Regions from separate parts of the Homo sapiens genome. Here region 1 is linked to region 2. Evidence: promoter capture Hi-C in human tissues and cell types (Jung and others, 2019). All regions are on one chromosome and are shown on one strand. Each heading gives the region's core, a stretch centred on a gene start or on the middle of the fragment in contact. The rest is flanking DNA. Distances are from core to core; before and after follow the strand shown.

Region 1 (4,730 bases), core at 1,787-4,286, 460 kb after region 2:
GGTCACAGAGGTGCAAGGTCCTATGCAGAGGCGAGAACGGCAGTTGCACTTTGTCACCTGCCACAAAGTTGCTGTGCCTGGGCCCATGTGTGTCAAGGACTCTGGAAACAAGCCTCACCTTTCATCAAAACCCTTTCTAATCTGAGGCCCTTTCAAGGGGCTGGAGAGGGACCAGCAGCCACACTACCCCCTTGCCAACCCCTCTCTCAGATTCCAGCCCAGCTCCCCACAGGGCAACCCAGGCTGCCCCAGATGCCACTGACCCCTCTCTTGCCTCCCTAAACATCACCATAACAACAAGACTACCTTACGTATCTTTTAAAAATTAATGAGGAGGCCTGTAATTCTACCACTTTGGGAGGCCACAGCGGGAGGATCACTTGAGCCCAGAAATTCAAGACCAGCCTGGGCAACATATTGAGACCCTATCTCTATTTTTCAAAAAAAGAAAAAAAATGAATGAGGCAGGGGCTTCCCACCATCCCCCTGCAAAGCTTATATTCTCAAAGATAAATTCAAGCCTTTTGGCCAGGCACGGTGGCTCATGCCTGCAATCTTAGCACTTCGGGAGGCCAAGACTAGAGGATCTCTTGAGGCCAGGAGTTTGAGACCAGCCTGGCCAACATAGCAAAACCTCATCTCTACTCAAAATACAAAAATTAGCTAGGCATGGTGGCACACACCTGTAGTCCCAACTACTCGAGAGGCTGAGGCTTGAGAATCACCTAAACCTGGGAGGTGGTGGCAGTGAACTGAGATTGTGCCACTGCACTCCAGCTTGGGTGACAGAGCAAGACTGTCTAAAAAAAAAAAAAAAAAAAAAAAAAAAAAAAAAAAAAAGCTTTTTGCTTGTCCAATTGTCTAAAAAGAGATCTGTTCAAAATGTTGCAAATACCCTTTCTTCCAATTTCTCTACTCCCATCAAGGTTCCAGAGATGTTACAACCAATTTTTTCTCAGTAGTCAAGCTCAGAGTCCCACGTGCTTCTCCTCCTCCAGCAGCCTTTGTAAGGAGGCAGCTGCCTCGAGAAATCACCTTGCAACTAAACTGTGGGAAAATGTGTAAGATCTTAACACAGTGGTAGAAACTAACATGTATGCAGTAGCCACTGTGCACCCGACACTGTTCTCGGTGCTCTCATGCAGCATCTCGCTTCTCCTCACCTCATCTGGAGGTGGGTTCAGTTATCAGGTCCATTTATCAGTCAGGCCTCTGGGGTTCATGAGGGTCATGCCCCTCACTCAAGGTCACACACTGGGAAGCGGTTGGATCCAGGATCCAGGCCCAGGCAGTCAGATTCCAGAGCCTGCACCCTGAACCAGTACCGCAGGGGCTGGCACCCCCGCACATTTTTTGCCCCATCAACATATTATCATGTCACTCCGCCAGCATCATGAAGTGCACTCATGATATGTTTGCCCCATCAGCGTGTCACGAGGGCATTTCATGATGCAGGCGGGGTTGGCAGGTGTGCATCGTGTAGGCTCCACATGGGACATGGCATCCCTTACGACTCTTGGCTGCAAAGTGCCAGAAACCCAGCTCCACTCACTTAATCTGAAAAGTGGGTGTATTTGTTCGCCAGGGCTGCTGTAACAAATTTCCCCCAGTTACTGGCTTCGAACAACACACACGTGTCCTCTTACAGTTCTGGAGGTCAGGCTCTGAGAGGAGAATCGGTTTTTTTACTTTTTTTTTTTTTTTTTTTGAGACAGAGTCTCGCTCTGTCGCCCAGGCTGGCGTGCAGTGGTGTGATCTCAGCTCACTGCAGCCTCCTGCCTCCCAGGTTCAAGCTATTCTCGTGCCTCAGCCTCCCAAGTAGCTGGGACCACAGATGTGCACCACCATGCCCAGCTAATTTTTTGTATTTTTAGTAGAGGTGGGGTTTCTCCATGTTGGCCAGGCTGGTCTCAAACTCCTGGCCTCAAGTGATCCACCCGCCTCAGCCTCCCAAAATGCTGAGATTACAGGTGTAAGCCACCACACCTGGCCCTTTGGTTTTTTGTTTGTTTTAGTTTTTCTTTCAGTGGCCACTTGTGTATGTTGACTGTGGTCTCTTCTTCCATCTTCAAAGCACATGACTCCAGTCACCCTCTCCTTTCTGTCATCAGATCACTGTCTCTCTTACAGGGACCCATGTGATTCCATTTAGGGCCCACCCCGACAGCCAAGGAAAAACTTCCCACCTCAAGATCTCTAACTGAACTAAAGTCCTGATTGCCATTTAAAGTAATAGATTTGCAGGTTCCGAGATAAGAATGTGCGCATCTTTGGGGGTTCGTTATTCGGCCCAGCACAGTCAGGGATGGCTCAGCTTCAGTCCTGACTGGATCCAGGGGATCAGATCGCATGCTCATGGCATCCCCCTCTCCAGCTCGCAGCCCTGCTTTCCTCAGCAGCTCCCGGCTTAATCCACCATTCAGCAGCCCCAGGGAAGAGACAGCACCTCTTCCAAAAGTGCCAGCCAACGTCCCCGGGCTGGTTCCCATTGGCCCACCTTAGACCACATGTTCATCCTTGAAGCAATCACTGTGGCCAGGGGGACCTTGGGTCCCTCTGATTGGTTTTCATTGTCCCCACCCCGTAGTCTTTTGTTTTTTTGTTTTTTTGTTTTTTTTGAGACAGAGTCTTGCTCTGTCATGCAGGCTGGAGCACAGTGGCGCGATCTCGGCTCACTACAACCTCCACTTGCTGGGTTCAAGCAGTTCTCCTGCCTCAGCCTCCCGAGTAGCTGGGATTACAGGCAGCTGCCACCACGCCCAGCTAATTTGTGTATTTTAGTAGAGACAGGGTTTCATCATGTTGGCCAGGCTGGTCTCAAACTCCTGACCTCAAACAATCCACCCGCCTGTCTCCCACAGTGCTAGGATTACAGGCATGAGCCACCATGCCCAGCCTCCACCCCATGGTCTTGTCCCACAGAGAGAGGTGTTTCCCCAAGGAAACTGAGTGGGAAACAGCATGGCATTGGAGTTTGTTCAATGGCAAGCCCTGGGGATAGTGCCTGGCACATAGTAAGTGCTCAGTAAATGATGATCACAGATCATGAGGCACAGCAGGTGTCCCTCCAGGAGCCAATACTTGAAGAGCACAGGGTTTACTAAGCAGATGTAGGCAGGAGAGCATTTCAAGCAGGGGGAACACCTTTAGCGAGGCAGAGGTGTCCACCATATGGCCAGGGTGACCAAATGTCTGGCCATACTTGGGAAGCTGGGGACCTAGGGGAGTCCTGGTTTGAACCTATCCCCCTAGTATAATACCATCCCCCTTTAATGCAAAACTCTCTCTGTTTGGAGAGTATCTGTATGGTCACTTTCCTTGCAGTCAACCTGCTCATTTATAAGGAAACCAAACAGACAAAGAGGATGAGATTGAACCCAAGGACCTCTAACCTTGAGTATCCAAATCCAGACTAGAACCCGAGCCTGATGACTCCCAGTGCAGTGCTCATCCCAGCCCTCAGCTTATGAGGCCAACCCTTGAAGGCTACATCAGATTAACCAGGCATGTTCTCTCTCTCTCTCTCTCTCTGTCAAATTTTCCATAGGATTGTGACCAGATCCACGTTGATGACGTCTCATCAGATGACAATGGCCAAGATTTAAGGTGGGAATTTGGGGAGTCAAAAATGCCCATTGATTGATTGATTGATTATCAAGTTATCCTTCTACTAGGAAGTGGGGTGGGAGAGGAGGGCTGCTTATAAGGACAAGGAGTGCCTGCCTCCAGCCAGAACTGGGACTTTTGCATCTCAGACTCAAAAATCACAACTAGGCGGGTGTGGTGGCTCATACTTGTAATCCCAGCACTTTGGGAGGTCTTAGCAGGAGGATCACTTGAGCTCAGGAGTTCAAAACCAGCCTGAGCAACATAGTGAGACCCCCATCTCTACTATAATAAATAAATGAGTAAAAATTTGTTTAAAAAATCACAACCTCACCCCTCAACCCTACAGTCTCTTGCTCATCACCTCAAATCACTAAACTCTGCTCATTTATTGCTATTTTTTTCCTGCTTACTGAAGTAATGCATGCATAACAGAAAAAATTCAAACACTTAACCTGACCTCACCTCCCAAACTCACCACCATTAAGAGTTTAGTATATATTCTTCAAAGATCTGCTCAAAATGTTGAAAATACCCTTTCTTTCAGCTTCTCTCCTCCAATCAAGGGTCCGGAGATGTTATAACCAATTTTTTCTCAGTAGTCAAGCTCAGAGTTTCACGTGCTTCTCCTCCTCCAGCAGTCTTCGTAAGGAGGCAGCTGCCTCCAAATATTTGGTTGTATTCATTAGCATACATATATATATTTTTTTCTTTTTCTTTTTTTTGAGGCTGACTTTCACTCTTGTCACCCAGGCTGGAGTGCAATGGTGTGATCTCAGCTCACTGCAACCTCCACCTCCCAGGCTCAAGCAATTCTCCTGCCTCAGCCTCCTGAGTAGCTGGGATTACAGTCATGCACCACCACACCCAGCTAATTTTTTTGTTTTTTTAGTAGAGGCGGGGTTTCACCATATTGGCCAGGCTGGTCTCAAACTCCTAACCTCAAGTGATCTACCCACCTCAGCCTCCCAGAGTGCTGGGGTTACAGGCGTGAGCCACCGCACCCGACCAGCATGCATATATTTTTAATATAACAATTGATACAGCCAATACTTAAGAAACACTTCTCAAATGAATAAGTGGTGTGTCTGGTTTCTAGGGGAAAACACTCCCAGGACATGGCT
Region 2 (5,171 bases), core at 1,227-3,726:
ATCACATTAAATTAAAGTTAGATACCATCCTCACCGATTTCTCAGCTTCTGATGGTTAACTGTTCAAGGGTCAGAGGAGAGATTCAAGGCCAAGGGTGATAAGCCTCCTAGTGTCCATGTAGATATAACCTAATCTCTACTTTCTCCTGGAGATGATCCATCTCCTTTTTCTAATCAAGATAATGAACAATAATGAAATGTGTATTCGTTATTTATCACTGTATAACAAATTATTCCCCAAATTTAGTGGCTTAAAGAAACAAACATTTATTATCTCATGTCTTCTAGGATAAAGAATTTAGCATAGCTAAATTCTAGCTCTGAGCAAGAGCTCAGAATCTTGCAAGGTTGAAATCAAGGTGTCAGCCAGGACTAGAGTCACCTCCAGGCTAGGCTGAGGGAAGATTCACGTCCAAGCTCACCACAAGCTTGTTGGCCAGATTTAGCTCCTTAGGGGCTGTTGATTTAAGGGCTTTAGTCCCTCACTGGTTATTGCCTGGAGGCATTAGCTATGTGATTCAATAGCTTCGCTCCATGTGGGCCTCTCCATTGGGAAGCTCAAAACATGGCAGCTCAATTGCTTCATCAGAGCAAACAAGTGAGAGATCTCGAAACTGAACAACACAGAAATCATTTATAACCTAATCCGAAAATGACATCCACCATATTTGCCGTCTTCTATTCATTAGACGTTGCTAAGTGATACTTCTAGTGACATCTAGAAGAGAAGAGGATGCCACTAGGCCACGAATACCAGGAGGGTCTCAGTGTAATCAGACTTTTTATATGAAGGCTCAGGGATCCAGGCACCAGTATTCCAGTGACCCAGCCTCAGAAGTTACACAGTGTCACTCTGCAGGCTACTGATCAAACCAGTCACAAGCCCACTTTTATTTCAAGGGAAGGAACAACGAATTCTGGAGCCATGTTTTCAAACTGCCCCAGCTATTATTATTTTTGAAACTGTGCAAGGATCCCCTGGTTCAGAGGTCTTATGGATGCTGTCATCTTTGCTGAGATACCTGCTTGTGCCTTCAGCATGGAAGAATGCCTGTGTATCCACCTGTACGGTAGGGGTCGCTGTGACTTTGACTGGTGAGGGTACAGCCACTGGTGCACATGCAAAGGTGCCTATCTGTGAACACGTATTGAGAGGCTGGATAAGGCTGCGCCCATGTGAGTGCTGGGCTTGTACGTGCATTTTTGCCTGAGTGAGCATTAGTGGCAGTGTCCCCAGCCTACCCCTTTCCTGAATCCCAGGCTCATAGCCAACTGCCCACCTATTTCCACGTGGATGCCTGCTGAGCACCTCAAATGTCACACAGCCAAGACAGAACTCTGGATCTCCTTTCCCAGCCACAAGCTGCCCCTCTTCCAGTCTGTAAGTTCTTACGGAGCATATATATGTGATCTGCCTACTTTTCTCCAACCTCACCACAGTGACATGAGCCCAAACCAACTTCTCACCTTGCAACAGCCTCCCAGGTGGGAAGGCTGAGTATTCTGGCCCTTAACCAGTTAGAACTCCCCAGTTATCTGTCCTGCTGATGGGGTTGAAATCTACATTCCTGACCCTGGCCCACCAAAGCCCCTCCCTTAGCTCCCATCTCCCTCCTCTCTCCCTGTCTTCTCCTCTGCTCCAGACACTCTGGCTTCATTTCTGCGTTTTTTGTACCCCATAAGCTCCTTCCCACCCCGGGGCCTTTGCCTTTGCTGTTCCCCCTGCGGGGAATGCCGGATCTCTGCTCAGATATCCTCTTCTCAGATCAGCAAGCTAAAGCAGCCACCTGTGTCTGCCTAACCCACCACCGTAGTTTAACTTTCTGCCTAGTCTTTATCACTAGCTGATATTTCTCAGGATCCTTTAGTTACTTCTTTTTCGTCTTCCCCTCCTAGAATGTAAACTCTTCCCCTCCTAGAAGGTAAACAAAAGACCTGTTCTGTTTTGTTCTTCGGCCCATCCCAAGCCTAGCGTAGTGCCTGGTATGTGGTGGTGTCCAAACCCAAGCGTGGAGTGAATGAGGGATGAATCCATGAGAGAGTGAGCGGCTCCAGTGGGTATGCGCGAGTGTCTCACTCGGTGTAGATGTGTGTGTTGTGTGTGTTGTGTGTGTGCGCACGCTGGGGAGGCCAGACAAGTGTGGACCAGTGATTGGGGCACCTCTTCCCTGCAAAGAGGCCAGGGGAAGACAGTGCGTGTGGGGTCTTCTACCAGGGAGGATGGCTTGCTGGTGTGTCCCCCCCAGGGGAGGACTACCAACGAAGGGGACCCGGGAGATGGCGGGTGGGGGCCCCCGGGAGGACAGTGGGCGAGGGAGGGGGTCCTTGCCAGGCCTGGGGCGGCCGGGGGCGGTCCTGGGCTCCCCTCCGTCCCGCCTCCAGGCCTCGGGGCCTGGCTGGCCGACGTGGCGTTGGCGGCGCTGCGCGCGGGAGGGCAGGGCAGGAGGGACAGAGGCGGGGGCGGGCCGGAAAGTTTGTCCGGCGGCAGCGGCGTTGGGGACTCCGGCGGGGGATGCGCGCCCGGCCCCTCAGCGCCCCCAGCACGCCGCCGAGTCCCGCTCGCCATGGGTAAGTCCCGATCGGGCGCTGCCTGCTGGAAGCCCGACCCCTTCCCAGGGTGTAGACACCGCCCCCACGCTCCCCTAAGAGTGCGCGCCCCCTGGCTCCCCCAGGGCCGCCCCGGCCGGATACCGCCTCTCGGGTGGCCAGCCCGAGACTGCAGGCCTGCGGCGGGGGCTGGGACGGGGCTCGGTCGCGCTTCCTTCCATCTTCCTTTCTGCCCCGGAAAAGTGGCCCCTCACTTGCTGCAGCGCCCACTCGGGCCCAGGCACTCTCCCGGGCGCCCTGATCCGACAGCCCCAGGCAAGTGCAGCTGTTCCTGGTCTGCAGATGAAGAAATGGAGGCTCCGAAAGAAGCAAAGCAGTTCATCGATTCGCTGAGCGCGGTTGTGCCCCAGGCGCTGTTGTGGGCCTGGGGACGCTGTCGCGAACGAAACTGCGAACAAAACAGACGAACCCCCTCCTCTGGACGTGATTCTGCAGAGAGGGGACAGAGAAGGAGATTCTAACACAGCATTGGGGTGGGACGCGTGGGGAATGGCTTTGTTGCCACTCGGGACTAGGGCTCTATTTTTCTCTCTGCATTCAGAAGCCTCGAAGGATCAGTCGTTGATTCTTGAGTGAGCACCTACTACGTGCCAGACATTGATATAGGGGTTAGAGCTTCAGCAATGAACAAAATAGACAATAAACCTCTCTCTCATGGAGGTGGCATTCTGATTGAGCAGCTGGGTAAACACGTTTATGAATAACTTCAGAGAGAGATAAGGTGTTGTGGAACCCATAAAATGGGGTGGCGTGAAGGCCAAGGGCGTGGGTTCCTTGGGTAGGTGGTCAGGGTGGGTTTTCTGGAGTAGGACGTTTTGGAGCTGAGAACTTCCTCAGAAGCGGGTCTTGCTGAGATCTGGAGAAAGAGCTTCCAGGTGGCAGCAACAGTGCAAAGGCCCTCAGGCAGGAATGAGTTTGTGTGGCCCAGGCCAGGATGGCCAGAGCACAGCGGGCAGGGCACTGAGGTCAAAGGGATGGCAGAGAGGTGTGCAGGGCTTTGTAAGCCGTGGTGAGAAGTTCAGATTTTATTGCAAATGCCACGGCAAGCTGGAGAAGGGTTTTAAGCTGGAGCGGGGCCGTGACCTGAATTATCTTTTCTTTTTTTTTTCTTTTTTTTGAGATGATCACTCTGTCGCCAGGCTGGAGTGCAGTGGCGTGATCCCGCTCACTGCAACCTCCAGCTCCCTGGTTCAAGCAATTCTCCTGCCTCAGCCTCCCAAGTAGCTGGGATTACAGGCATACACCACCACGCCCAGCTAATTTTTGTATTTTTAGTAGAGAGTGGGTTTCACCATGTTGGCCAGGATGTCTTGATCTCCTGACCTCGTGATCCGGCTGCCTCGGCTTGGGATTACAGGCGTGAGCCTCCGCGCCCGGCCCTGAATTAACTTCTCAAAGTTTGCTCTGAGTCGTTCTGTGGAGAATCACAGTCGCTAACACTGGCTATGATGTAGGTAAGCATAGAAGGTAGGCATTAATATCCCATTTGTAGATGGGGAAGCCCAGAGAGGTGAGGTGAGTTCCCCAAGGTCACACAGCTATGGAGAGGAGAAGCTGGGAAGGAGCCCCAGCATTCTGACTCCAGTCTGCATTCCTAACCACTGCACCACGTGGCCTGTCATGGTGGATTAATGGTAAAACTGGTGACCAGTTCCGGCTCTGACAGGAGAGTCCATCCTCTTAACCCCCACAGCACAGTGCCCCAGAGCCTGAGAAAAAAATGAGGCCCAGAGAGGTCAAGGTCTTCTTAAGGACACTCAGCTTAGCCCTAGCCCCTTGTTCCTGCACCTCCTATTCCTGCTAAATCAACCCAACAGCCATTTGCTGAGTGCCTTCTATGGGCAGAGCGAGGGCTGGGTGTTAGTGCTGGGGGAGGCATAAGTCATGGCTGCGGGTCTCTGTCCTCCCCAGAATTCTTACACAGCAGGGACCAGGGATTGGGCTCTCTTTATAGCCTCTGGGGGCAGAACTGGGTTCTAGACCCAATTCCTCTCACTTTGTTCCACCATTCCACTTTGACCTGGGAGAGTCTGCCAACTTCTCTGGTCACTATCAAATACCCTTATCACAGGGTAGCCATGAGAATGATGTGAAAAAATGAATTACAGTGCTCGGCTCATCACCTATATCTGGTAAATGGTGAGTGAATGTGAGTTTTTATTTTATATTGCACCCAATATTGGGATTCTGGAGTCAGACTGCCCGAGTTCAAGTTCCTGCTATGTGACTTACAAACTGTGCCACCTTGGGGAAATGTCTTCACCTCTCAGTGTGGTGGTTATTTCTGTAAAATGGGAATGACAATAGTGATTGTCATAGGATTGTCTAGGGATTAAGCCAGCTGGTACAGATACTGCCCCTTAGGAGAGTGGCTGGCTATAGTGGGTACTCCAAGTATCAGCTGTGGCTGCAATTGCTGGGACATTTGGAAGCCGGCCATCTGCAAGAGGATATTCATACAGTTCAATTTCACATCTGGCTTCTCCCTGGAGCTTCAGGGAAAGCCACAGCAGGTCTCTGGTGCAGGAGGGACCCAGTGCTCTGTGACCTCTGGTTGAGACACT

Evidence for each region. The method cuts DNA at HindIII sites, captures the fragments that hold promoters and counts their contacts. A contact is called where the count stands out against the background at its distance.
Region 1: a contact is called between a fragment that was not itself captured here and the fragment with the promoter of SLC2A10 in region 2, in 1 of the 25 tissues and cell types used here (H1 embryonic stem cells).

What each region holds. Positions count from the first base shown.
Region 1 is chr20:47,165,592-47,170,321 of GRCh38, forward strand. EYA2 (EYA transcriptional coactivator and phosphatase 2) reads left to right here. Exons shown (of 16, transcript NM_005244.5): 11 at 3,548-3,606. It overlaps MIR3616 (microRNA 3616), which reads left to right and starts at 1,376; the gene lies at 1,376-1,467. The HindIII fragment of the contact is 9,518 bases long and covers 1-4,730 here.
Region 2 is chr20:46,707,173-46,712,343 of GRCh38, forward strand. It overlaps SLC2A10 (solute carrier family 2 member 10), which reads left to right and starts at 2,477. Exons shown (of 5, transcript NM_030777.4): 1 at 2,477-2,568. The coding sequence starts at 2,565. The HindIII fragment of the contact is 11,113 bases long and covers 1-5,171 here.